2 separate regions of the Homo sapiens genome follow, and region 1 is linked to region 2. The links are contacts of gene promoters, found by promoter capture Hi-C in blood cells and fetal thymus (Javierre and others, 2016). All regions are on one chromosome and are shown on one strand. The core of a region is centred on a gene start or on the middle of the fragment in contact, and the rest is flanking DNA. Distances in the headings are between cores, read along the strand shown.

Region 1 (6,786 bases), core at 1,974-4,473, 480 kb before region 2:
CTCTGATATTCTTCCCAGACACTTTCCCACAGAAAAGCCAAATTCAGCTCCTTAGGGTGAGAGATCACACCCTGGTCATCTCGGTACAGCAATCCTGGAGACTTCTGGGGCCTAAGCTGCTTCCTTCACGGTGGCCACACTGTGTCCCCTGACCCCATTATCTCTATGCTCCCCTAGAGCTCAGGAAATCAGGAAGAAAAGTGGCTCATCCAGATGCAATGCAGTGACTGTGAGGGGCTGGCATCAGGTTCAAAGTGGTCAGGAAGAGGGAAATAAGTGACAGGGGGTGAAACAAATAGGATGGGGCAGAGCTCTTGCCAACTGCAAGTCAGATGATGTCTCCACATCCAAACACCACAGAATAAATACTTAAAATCATGCTCCAGAGGGATCACAAAACAGGCTATAAACTTGTCCCACCTGCAGAATCTGCTGGGGCGATAAAGAGAGCCAAGTAGTCTGGATAAGCATAATCTCACGCAATATAATCCAGAAACAAAGTACTGACTGATAAGATTTTATAGCTTTAGAGAAAGAGAGAAAAATAGGCTTTGCTGAGGGCCCTTTAGAGCTGTCTCAAGAGGCCTCTGCTGCCTGTAGATCAAGGGCAAACTCTTTTTACTAGACAGTCTTGCCCTGTCACCTGGCAGTAGTGCAGTCGTTCGATCATGGCTCACTGCAGCCTTGAACTTCTGGGTTCAAGCAATCCTCCCACCTCAGCCTCATGCTGAATAGCTGGGATTATAGGCGCATACCACCAAGCCCAGAAAATTTTTTTAATTTTTAAATTTTCTGTATAGGCTGGGCACGGTGGCTCACACCTGTAATCCCAGCACTTTGGGAGGACAAGCTGGACAGATCACTTGAGGTCAGGAGTTCGAGACCAGCCTGGCAAATATGGTGAAACCCAGTCTCTACTAAAAATACAAAAATTAGCCAGGAGTGCTGGTGCACACCTGTAATCCCAGCTACTTAGGTGGGTGGCTGAGGTAGGGGAATTGCTTGAACCCAGAAGGCGGAGGCTGCAATGAGCCGTAATTGCACCACTGTGCTCCAGCCTGGGCAATGGAGTAAGACTCCGTCTTAAAAAAAAAAAAAAAAGAAATTCTATAGAGACAAGGTCTTGCTTTGTTGCCTGGGCTGGTCTTCAACTCCTAGGCTCAGGCAATCCCGTAGCCTCGGCCTCCCCAAAAGTACTGGGATTGAGGGCATGAGCTACCATGCCCCGCCTAAACTCTAATGTGACATAAAAGGCCCTCCACACTCCAGCTCAATCTCCCACTTAGGCCCTCTTTCTCCTTAGGCCCCACCAAGCACAAGTCCTCAACACCGAACAACATACTATTTAATGAGGCCAGCATTTTCCCACCTGCAAGTCTTTATACACATTAGTCCCTCTGCCTGGAATACCACTCCCACCCTCAGCCGCAGGCCCCTTCCTTTCTTCAACAAATATTTATCGATTATCCACGATGTGCCAGGCCATAAAGATTAAGTATTTTTTCTCACAGACCTCATGAGCTTAGAGTCCACGAGGAAAAAATATTAGCAAGTAATTATACAATAAAGCCTGATGCACATGAAGGTCAGGGAACAGTATGCTTAGGGAACATCCAGCAGAGGCCTAGCTTAGTTGAGGGGGGTGGGAAAAGGCAGTCCTCACAGAGGAACTTTTTTTTTTTTTTTTTTTTTTGAGACGGAGTCTCATTCTGTCGCCAGGCTGAAGTGCAGTGGCACAATCTCGGCTCACTGCATCCTCCGCCTCCAGGGTTCAAGCGATTCTCCTGCCTCAGACTCCCGAGTAGCTGGGACTACAGGCACGGGCCATCACGCCCGGCTAATTCTTGTATTTTTAGTAGAGACGGGGTTTCACCATGTTGGCCAGGATGGTCTCGATCTCCTGACTTTGTGATCCGCCCGCCTCGGCCTCCCAAAGTGCTGGGACTACAGGCGTGAGCCACCGCGCCGGGCCGGACCTCTTAACCTACATCTAAACAATGCCTACCAAAGGAAGTATGGAGTAAAGAAAGGTATCTCAGTATTAAAAGAAATAAGTTGGCTGGCGAGGTGGCTCACGCCTGTAATCCCAGCACTTTGGGAAGCCCAGGCGGGCGGATCACTTGAGGTCAGTAGATCGAGACTAGCCTGACCAACGTGGTGACCCGTCTCTACTAAAAATACGAAAATTAGCCGGGCGTGGTGGCAGGCGCCTGTAGTCCCAGCTACTCGGGAGGCTGAGGCAGGAGAATCGCTTGAACCCGGCAGGCGGAGGTTGCAGTGAGCCGGAATCGCGCCACTGCACTCCAGCCTGGGCGACTGCTATGTCTCAAAAAAAAAAAAAAAAAAAAAAACACGTTCAAATAAGTTCAATGTGGCTGGGGCAGAGATGCTAGAGAAAGCGGTGAGAAACTAGGAAAGGTGGGTAAGGACCAGATAATGAAGACCTTTGCAAGCGTTCCAGTGTGAAGCAACTTTAACATCTAAAGCAGAGGTGTCGTGATTAGAAAGACGTTATAGATCTTTGTGGATCTGGGCAAAGGAAGAGTCCCCGAGCAGCAAAGACGCTCCTGGAGTCGTCCAGGTTAGAAATGACGGTGGCCTGCACTAGAGACGCCGCAGAAAGGACTGGAGAAAAATACATGTTAGTCGGAAAAGAAGGTAGAATCTCCCGACACAGTAGTGACCAGCTGGAAGTAAAGTTGAGAACGGTATTGGTGGTGACTCCCGGTTTCTGGATCCCGCCGGTAGCCGAGGGGCGACGGCCGACCCAAAGCTCACCTCCCCACTGCACGCCGCCCCTGGATCGAGTACCTTGGTGCTTTACTATTTAGCACACGGAAGTGTTGTTCTGTTGTCCGTGTCTCCTTGGAGACCGTGGAGAACAGAAGGGCCGGCGGGGGTTTTCGCTTTGTACTCCTGGTGCCCAGCCGGCGCTGCAATCCAGCAGAGGAGCCGGACTAGAAACGCGGAAGCTCTGGGTGCACGCGCCCGGCCCGGGACTGGGCGGCCCAACCGGGAGGGCGGCGGGTCCTGCGGCCACGCAACAGGCGTTGGGGAAGCAGCAGAGACCCTGCGTGCGCGCGGGCTTCGGCCTCCAGATTCCGCAGAGTCCCGGGCCCGATCCCCCCGGGGCTGGCCTCCTGCCCTACGTGGGCCCCGCGCGCCCACCTGGAACTCACGATGGCGAATCCGTGGTCACCTGAAGGCAACAGCACCGGCGCCCAGTGCGCCTGCGCCGCGCGTGCGCAGAGCCCTCGCCTCCCGGCCTCGCCTCGCAGACGCGACGGGCCGGGGAGGAAGCGCTCGGAGCAGTGCAGGTTTCGTTATCCTGTGTTAGGTCACTCCGGAGAGGGGAAAGCGGCCCACAGCGTCGCGCGACCCGGAAACGACACAACGAGGCCCAATCTTTTAGACTCGAGTTTAGGCCCCGGGGTGGAGTCTCCGGACCGGGTCCCCCCACCCCCGCTACAGGGGCAGTGCGCAGGCGCGAGGTATGTATCGCGAGACCATGCGGTTGCCCGGGTAACCAGACGCTCAGGACTTGGACCGTCCAGTTGTTCGGAGGCCAGCCTATAGCCAATGGTATCCCGAGGGCTCGCTCTCTCCGGGCGTTTGTGCTCCCCTCTCTCTTCTAACCCAGTTTCTACCTTTCAGTGCTTTGGAATCTTAGCCCTCTGTCTCTATTCGCTTTTCTGTATTTGCCTTGCCTCAGGGACGCACAACCCCAGCCCCTGTCCCAGTGAGCCCGTCGCCATGGAATCCCTGCAGACTCCCCAGCACCGCGAAAATCAAGATAAAAGGGAGAAGGAGTATGGGGTAAAACACATGCCTATGGGCAATAATGCAGGGAATCTTGAGCCCGAAAAGAGAAAGGCAGTAAGAGTTGCCTTGAGTTCAGCAACAGCTGCACAGAATATCCCGTCCAGTGTCCACTGTGGCTGCTCCAAGCAATGGAGACTCAGGCTACCATCGGAGTCGCTGCAAAGTCGGGGACAAGTGATGAAGCGGCCGAATAACATTTTAAAGCTCAGGAATCTGGATCTGTTGATCTACCCTTGGCCAGAACTTAGAAGACGGCAGGTTGCTTCTGACCTAATGAGCCTCCTCCTTCTCCCCGCTTTTTCCGGCCTTACTTGGGCCCCCTTCCTTTTCCTCTTTACGTATCTGCCTCCTTTTCTCAATCTCCTCACTGTTGGTTTTGTATCCTATTTTCTGGTATAGTTTCTGTGATTTCTTTCTTTTATTTATTATTATTATTGTTGTTGAGACAGAGTTTTGCCCTTGTTGCCCAGGCTGGAGTGCAATGGCGCGAACCTGGCTCACTCCAGCCAGCGCCTCACAGGTTCAGGTGATTCTCCTGCCTCAGCCTCCGGAGTAGCTGGGGTTACAGGCACGGGCCACCAGCCCAGCTAATTTTTGTATTTTTAGTACAGACGGTGTTTCACCATGTTAGTCAGGCTGGTCTCGAACTCCTGACCTCAGGTGATCCGCCCACCTCGGCCTTCCAAAGTGCTGGGATTACAGGCATGAGCTACTGTGCCCAGCCTCTATGATTTCAATTTTCATGTTTAAGTACCTATGTAGAACCTAACTGTCCATAAGTAAACACAACAAAAAAAAGATTTGGCTTTTGGTCAAAGATCATTGGAGGTTACACAGGGTAAAGTGCAGTATGATTTTTATCACAATTAGAAAGATTAAAAAGAGATGACAGTGAGTTTGTGAGAACAGGTTTGTGTTTCATAAAATGAATTGTGTGAGTTAGCTATGATGAACTGCAAGCAGCTTGCATTTCCAAAGACAAATAGAGACACAGGAATCTAATTAAAATGCTAAAGTAATGGGAAGGAGACATCCATACGTTTTTGTCCCCCTAAGGTTCCAGATTTATAGTTTGAGCATCATCTCGGCTTACATTTTCTCTGTGGAAAACATCAGCCATTACATTACTTGGCTCTGGGTTGAAATCCTAACTTCATCAACTGAAGATCTTATGACCTAGGCAAGTTTATTAACCTCCTCTATGACGTGATAAAAATAGTATCTCTTGTGCGGATTAGAAGACATGTTCCTCTATGCTAAGATGATTATTATGTGCGGAACACATAGTTAAGTGCTTGATAAATTGAACTATGGCAAATCCAGTCTCAACCGTGGCAAAACTAAGTTAATAAAAATGAAACATAACCTTTATTATTTTAGTGCTTGTGTTTTATTTTAAAACTAGCAGTATAATTTCCACGAGGATTTTGCTAAAATTAACAAGTACATTTCGAAAGTAATTTCTGTCCCTCTTGTATCACACAAACATTACAACCAAAAAGTAAAAAACATTCTCCCATGACCCAATCACACCCATTTTTTTCTTTAGTGTTCCCTTCTACTTTGTTTCACATATGTGCATGCTTTTACATTAAACTAATACAGATTAAGTCTTCTGATTTTCTTTACACATAACGCTTTTTCATGTTTCTCAAATTATTACTTTACATATTTGATATCCTATTCTGAAGAAACGGTTTTTTTTTTTTGGAGACAGGGTCTTGCTCTGTTGCCCAGGCTAAAGTGCAGTGGCACCATCTCAGCTCACTGCAACCTCCTCCCAAGCTCAAGTGATCCTCCCACCTCAGCCTCCTGAGTAGCTGGGACTACAGGAGCATGCCACCATGCCTGGCTAATTTTTGTACTTTTTGTAGAGACGGGGTCTTGCCATGTTGCTCAGGCTGGTCTCAAACTCCTGGGCTCAAGTAATGCTCCTACCTTGGCCTCCCAGAGTGCTGGGATTACAGATGTGCACCACCACACCTGCCAGTTTTACTTTTTAATGACAGTTGTTTTATCCTGTAAAATCTGTTTGGTCTTTGTATATTAGAGCTTTCTTTTTATATTAATTCTAGAATTGGACTACTGTTTGATTTGTATGCTTTCCATTATTTGACAATGACTTAAGATTCTGAGTGATGGCCGGCTGTGGTGGCTCACACCTGTAATCCCAGCACTTTGGGAGGCTGAGGCAGGAGGATTGCTTGAGCCCGGGAGTTCAAGACCAGCCTAGGCAACATGACGAAACCCCGTCTCTACAGAAAAAAAAAAAAAAAAAATTAGCTGGGCATGGTGGTGTGTGCCTGTAGTCCCAGCCACTCCTGAGGCTGAGGCAGGAGGATTGCTTGAGCATAGAAGGTGGAGGCTACAGTGAGCTATGATCACACCACTGCACTCTAGCCTGGGCAACAGAGTGAGACCCTGTCTCCAAAACAAATAAATAAAAAGATTCTGAGTAATAAATTAGATCATTAGCCACAATCCTTTGATGAAATAAGTGAAGGTCCCAACAAGAAAATTTGTCAATAGAAGAATGTAAGGGAATTGACCACCAGATTCTTCTTTTCCTCCATGGTATTCTGACCTTAGCTGTGTGTGTGTGTTTGTGTGTGTGTGTGTGTGTGTGTGTGTGTGTGTGTTATGTAACAGTAGTTGTTATGTAAACAATTCATTATTTTAAATCAGTTACTAAGAATAAACTTTAATGATGAGATGCAAAATGAATACTGAAAGCTTTACTAATTGGAACGGTATAGTACTCCAAAGAATATCTGTGTCCATAGAGACAAGTGAAGGTGAGGAGTTTCAAGCAGTTGAGCAATTCGCAGGTCTCACAAAACAGCAAAATCAAGACCAACATGATGTCAGCTCCCTGCATCTCTAATCCCATGGGACAGCATTCCCAATCTCAGAGGTCAGATGACAGGTCTTATGAGTGGTGGGTCACTCTGTCGAGGAACAAAC
Region 2 (6,422 bases), core at 618-3,117:
CTTTCTGACTTTCTCTCTCTGGCCTGGTTTAAGAATCTCATGCCTGTAATCCCAGCACTTTGGGAGGCCAAGGCGGGTGGATCACGAGGTCAGGAGTTCCAGACCAGCCTGGCCAACATAGTGAAACCCCGTCTCTACTAAAAATACAAAAATTAGCCAGGCATGGTGGCATGCACCTGTAGTCCCAGCTACTCGGGAGGTTGAGGCAGGAGAATCTCTGAACCAGGGAGGCAGAGGTTGCAGTGAGCCGAGATCACACCACTGCACCCCAGCCTGGGCAATACAGCGAGACTCCATCTCAAAAAAAAAAAAAAAAATCTCTCATACTAGCTCCCAGGTGCTTGTCCATCACAGCATTTATTGTATTATGTTTGCTCCAATGTCTGTCTCCTCTGCTAGGCTGTAAGTCTGCTGAGGGCAGTGACCTCATTTTTCATCTCCATATTCTTAGGTCCTGACATATTGCCTGGCCCCCGTTGGATGCATGGATGTTTATTGAATGAATATTGAAAGATGGACTTTATTAAATGTGTTGATGGAGAAGCCAAGATGAAAAGCCAGGAATGTTACTCCATGGAGAGACTGTGGAAAAGCTTTGTTGGTATAAGCGGTCATGTTTTGGGGTATTTAAGATGCATCTGATTAGTTGGAAGAGAAAAGACCTGGAATCACAGAGCAACTTGAACATATTTTATTGTTAGTGTTCATTGACTTGGCAGACCCTCTCTTAACTGCAAGGTACTTCTGTACATTTTTTTTTACTCTGAAGAATTTTTCCTTCCCTTTCTTTTTGCTCTCCAAGCGTTATACTCCGCTTTCAGCAGCTAACAAGCGAGCTGTGGAATGGGGCTGGTGCCACCCCACATCGGCTGGGAAGGCCTCAAAAAAAGCCAAATCCTGTTTCAAATCTTGTTTATGCTCCTTCCTCTCTTCCCCAGCTTCAAATCAACAGATGCTTCTAGTCTGGGAACCTAGGGGAGTTCTCAGGGCCATGTATCCTGTTTCTTTTAATAGAATTGCAGCCTGACTAAGGTAAAAATTAGTTTCCTTTTTATATTCTTTAATTCCTTGTCTTCACTCTTTAATCAAATGTCTTGTTTTAATTTTTCCTTGCCCTGTGGCGTTGGCTTATGTCTAGCCACAAAATGTCCCATTTCATATACGTTTTAAAAAGTGGACCACAGGAGGAAATATTTCATCCAAAGGGAATATTATAGTTTGAACACTTAAGATCTAGAATCAAAGAGTCTGCAGTAGGAGTCAGTCACAGAACACAAATAACAGGGCCACAGAATTTTTCTGTTAAACAGAAAAAGTAAGAAAGGAGTCTACATAATATAAACAGCAGTTTAATGTTGCTTTCAAAACATCGAAATGTGAAACCAAATCTCACTCTCCTCACTGGCTGTGGACATGCCTCTTCCCTGAAATTCCCTGAAAAGAATGCCAAATTTAAAAAAACAGAGAACCTAAGAAATAAAATGGTCTTTATTGCAAAAGTCATGATTATCTACATTAAAAATCCCAAAGAACTATTTAAAAAATGACTAAGAAATATAATATGTGAGTTTGTCAAGTTCATAAGATACAAGGTCAATCTGTGGGAATCAACTGTATTTTTAAATACAAGCAATAAATAATTGGAAATTGAAATTCTAAAAATGTATAATTTACAATAACATCAAAACCAAGAAATACTTAGGGATTACTTTAACAAAATGTATGTAAGGTTTGTATGCTGGAAAGTACAAAACATTGATAAGGAAATCGAACAAGACCTAAATAAATGGAGAGATATACTATGTTCATGTGTCAGAAGACTATATATTAAGACATCAGTTAAATGCGGCATGTTCTCACTCATAAGTGGGAGTTGAACAATAAGAACACATGGACACAGGGAGGGGAACATCACACACCAGGGCCTGTGGGGGGATGGCGGGCTGGGAGAGGGATAGCATTAGGAGAAATACCTAATGTAGTTGACGGGTTGATGGGTGCAGCAAACCAATATGGCACGTGTATACCTATGTAAGAAACCTGCATGTTCTGCACATGTATCCCAGAACTTAAATTATAATAATAAAAAAAATACAGTAAGCATTTTGAAAAAAATCAGCGTTATTCTAAAATGTATATGAAAGCAAAGGGCCTAGTACAACCAAAATAATTTTGGAGAACAACAAAGTTAGATGACTCACAAAACCTGAATTTTAGAGTTACTGTAAAGTAATACAAATAAGAAAGGGTGGTGTTGATGAAAGGTTAGATATACAGAGACATGGAACAGGATAGAAAATCCAGAAATAGGCCAAGCGCGGTGGCTCATGCCTGTAATCCCAGCACTTTGGGAGGCCAAGGTGGGCGGATCACGAGGTCGAGACATCGAGACCATCCTGGCCAACATGGTGAAACCCCGTCTCTACTAAAAATACAAAAATTAGCTGGGCATGGTGGCACGCGCCTGTAGTCCCAGCTACCCAGGAGGCTGAGGCAGGAGAATGGCTTGAACCTGGGAGCGGAGGTTTCAGTGAGCCGAGATTGTGCCACTGCACTCCAGCCTGGCGACAGAGCGAGACTCCATCTCAAAAAAAAAAAAAAAAAAAAAGAAAGAAAGAAAGTCCAGACGTAGATAGACACTTACACGGTCAACTGATTTGCAACAAAGCTACCAAGTTCATCAATGTATAAGACATAGTCCTTTCAAAAAGCAAACAATGGAACATCTGTATACTAATGAAAAAAAAAGAAATTCAACCTTTACACCATTGCCTAGCACCATATGAAAATATTAATTTGAAATACGTCATAGACCTAAATGTAAGAGCAAAAACTATAAAACTTCTAAAAGAAAACATAAGAGAATGTAATTGTGTGCTTAGCTTGGGCAAAGGTTTTTTTTTTTTTTTTTTTTTTTAGCTAGGACACAAACACAAATCGTAAAAGAAGGCATGGATAAATAAGCCTTCAAATTTAAAGTTTTTTCTTCTTCAAAATACATTGTTAAGGAAATAAAAAGAGAAGTCATAGATGGGGAGGAAATATTTAGAAAACACATGCCTGTAAAAGAACTCTTACAACTTATTAAGAAAATACACACAACCAATAAAAACTGGATAAAAGACTGGAACAGAAGCTTCGCTAAGGAAGATATATGGATGACAAATAGCACATGAAAAGGTGCTCAACATAATAAGCCATTAGAAAAATAAAAATTAAAACCACTCTTCACCTATTAGAATGGCTAAAATGAAAAACACTGCTAGTGTCGACTGCTGATGGATCATAGAACAACCAGGACTCTCATGCATTGCTGGTGGGAACGTCAATATGGGCACTTTGGGAAAAAGTGCCCATTAAGTGAAATGTACACCGACTGACCGTACTGCCTTATTTTCCTAGGGTTGCTGTAACAAAGTATCGCAAAGTGAGTGGCTTAAAACAACAGCAATTTATTTCTCGCACTTCTGGTGGCTACAAGTGTTGGATGAAGGGATCTACAGGCGGTGCTCCCTCTAAATCCCTCTGAAGCTCCCTCTGAAGGTTATAGGAGAGTTTCCTTCCTCATGTCTTCTAACCTCTGGTACTTGCTGGCAATCCTTGGCACCCTTTAGCTTATTGATACATCACTCCAATCTCTGCCCCTGTTGTCACAAGACCATCTTCTTCCTGCGTGTCTGTTTCTGTGTCTCGTCTCCTCTTATGAGGATACTTACCAGTCAGATTAAGGGCCACCGTACTCCAATATGACCTCATCTTAATTACATCATCTGCAGTGACTATTTTTTTTTTAAGCAGTCTCACTCTGTCGCCCAGGCTGGTACCCAATGGCATCATCTCGGCTCACTGCAACCTCTGTCTCCCGGGTTCAAGCGACTCTCCTGCCTCAACTTCCTGTGTAGCTGGGATAACAGGTTCACACCACCATGCCTGGCTAATGTTTGTATTTTTAGTAGACACGGGATTTCGCTATGTTGGCCAGGCTGGTCTTGAACTGCTGACCTCAAGTGATCCACCTGCCTTGGCCTCCCAAAGTGCTGGGATTACAGGCATGAGCCACCAAGCCCGGCCCGTAATGACTTATTTCCAAATAAGGTCACATTCGAAGACTGGAGATTAGGCCTCAACATCTTTTTGGGGGGCGTGGGGGCAAGGGACAGAATCCAACCCATAATACCATACAACCCGACAGTCCCACTCCTAGGTTTTTACCCAAGAGAAATGAAAACATATGACATATGTTCTCACACAGACCTGTGTGAGATGTTTATAACGGCTTTATTCATAGTCACCCCAAACTGCAAACAAGCCAAGTTCATCAACTGTAAATGGATAAACTGAGATAAACAATACAATGGAATACCACTTGGAAATAAAAAGAACGAATTACTGATACACCCAAGAACATAGAGAAATCTCAAAAGCGTCTTGTGAAGTGAAAGCAGCCCTGAAGGAGACTGAACTGTATAATACCCTTCATGTTGCATTCTGGAAAAGGGAGAACTATGGAGCAAAAATTGCAGAGACTGTGGGTGGGGAGGAGGGAACTCACCACAAGGGGACATGAGTCAACTTTTTTAGGTGGTGAAATATTCCCTATGATAATTGTGGAGGTGGTTACACAACTGTATTACATGAGTCAAAATTAATAGATCTGTAGACTAAAAAGAGTAAATCTTACTGTATATAAATTTCACTTCAAGAAGCTGGGTTTGGTGCTTCACGCCTGTAAACCCCACCTCCCAGCTTCAAGCAATTCGCCTGTCTCAGCCTCCCAAGTAGCTGGGAAAACAGGCATGCGCCACCATGGTAATTAGGCACCAAACTCTGGGTCATGGGCCTGTCTCAGGCCTTTTTTTTTTTTTTTTTTTGGCGTCTACCTGAAACTGTCTCTAGTTGTTTATTCTTTACTCCTGACCGGACAGCACCTTCCTAGATGCAGCAGTGTCCTTTCTTCCCTACCAGGACAGCTTGCTCTTGCTTTACATGTGTTGAAGCTCTGAGCACACAGTTTTACTTTTGTCTCTGCTCAAACACAGATAGCCACTTACGTGTTTCATCACTTCTAAGCAGCCATCAATTGTGAAATTAGGATATCTTAAGCTTCAGATGCCAGAATGTACAATTTTATGTTAAATCATATTCAGTTTAGACCATTTTTGAAAAGACAGTGTCTCCTGAGTGGCTTGACTCCTTGTGAGCAAGACCCAGGCTCTCCCTCACTTCCTGTTGCAAGTTTGAGAGACATGTATCCTCTCCAGGGATTAAAACCAGTAAGGCCCCCCTGCTCCACCTTCAAGTGCAAGCCCCTTCTCTTTGCAGATGCTTTTATCTTGATATGCAACAATTGCTAGCAAGGTGCAGAGCAGGAATTACACACAGGTCTCAACAGGAAAGGCTTGTTTCCTGAGTCTTTCATTCACAGTGAAAACCGGGGCATGATCTTCAAAAAAAACTGAAAATATCCCGAGTCAGTTAATTTCCTTTTCCTTTCCAGCCTCTTTATTTCCTTTTCTTCACTCCTGCTGCATTCTTGTCTGTAATTAGCTCTTCCTCTCGGTTCTCTTTCTTCTCTCTTTTCTCCTATTGCTCCTCTCCTTTTTCTTCTCTTCCTTATCCTTCTCTTATTCACCCACCTGCCTGCCTTATTTTTATTTTTACTTTCCTTACTCTCTCTCTCTCTCTTTTATTTTATTTTTATCTTTTTGAGACAGGGTCTCCCTGTGTCACCCAGGCTGGAGTACAGCGGCACAATCATGGCTCACTGCAGCCTTGACCTCCCAGGGCATCCTCCCACCTCAGCCTCTGAAGTAGCTGGGTCCACAGATATGTGCCATCACACCCAGCTAATTTTTGTATTTTTTGTGCAGAGGCAGGGTTTCCCCATGTTGCCCAGGCTGGTCTCCAACTCCTGGGCTCAAGCGATCTGCTTGCCTTGGCCTCCCACAGGGCTGGGATTACAGGCATAAGCCACTGAGTCCAGCCTCCTTACTCTCTCGAGTGTGCCTTTCATTATTGCTGTTCTTACTCTGTAAAGTTTTGTGTTCTCCAATATGCCTAGAAGAAAGTCTGCCACAAAATTGCCAATAATATACCCACTGGGTCTTTCCATTTTTTTATACCAGGCTGACCTAGGCAATGGAACAATACCTTTTATCCATTTCTTGGTGTGATTACAGCTCAGGCATATTCATTTTCAACCTCATTAATAGTCCCCTGGGCTTACTTTATGTCATCAGAAGAGGAGTGAGAATTATGGAAATCTCAGTAAAAACAATGCCCCTTGTCTTTTCATTTCTGTGGTGTTTTTGAAGCTCGAGTTTCCAGTAGCTCCATAGAACTGCTAATCAGATTTTTTCCTGTATATAAAACTGAGTCTTAAGAAGAGTCATTCCAACAAACATGCAACATGCCCTTAGTTC

Evidence for each region. Contacts are between HindIII fragments. The CHiCAGO score rates a contact against its expected background, and 5 or more counts as called.
Region 1: the fragment with the promoter of RPP38 here is called in contact with a fragment that was not itself captured in region 2 in 1 of 17 cell types (neutrophils); the score reaches 5.1 in neutrophils.

What each region holds. Positions count from the first base shown.
Region 1 is chr10:15,093,792-15,100,577 of GRCh38, reverse strand. It overlaps RPP38 (ribonuclease P/MRP subunit p38), which reads right to left and starts at 3,223. Exons shown (of 3, transcript NM_183005.5): 1 at 2,812-3,223. RPP38-DT (RPP38 divergent transcript) reads left to right here and starts at 3,259. Exons shown (of 2, transcript NR_160789.1): 1 at 3,259-3,491; 2 at 3,713-5,193. RefSeq lists enhancers at 2,516-2,655, 2,716-2,805, 3,107-3,678 and a silencer at 2,946-3,305. The HindIII fragment of the contact is 10,027 bases long and covers 1-6,557 here.
Region 2 is chr10:14,616,204-14,622,625 of GRCh38, reverse strand. The region is part of intron 2 of FAM107B (family with sequence similarity 107 member B); the gene reads left to right. Among named protein-coding and RNA genes, the nearest start is that of FAM107B, 160 kb to the left of the region's middle. The HindIII fragment of the contact is 2,543 bases long and covers 596-3,138 here.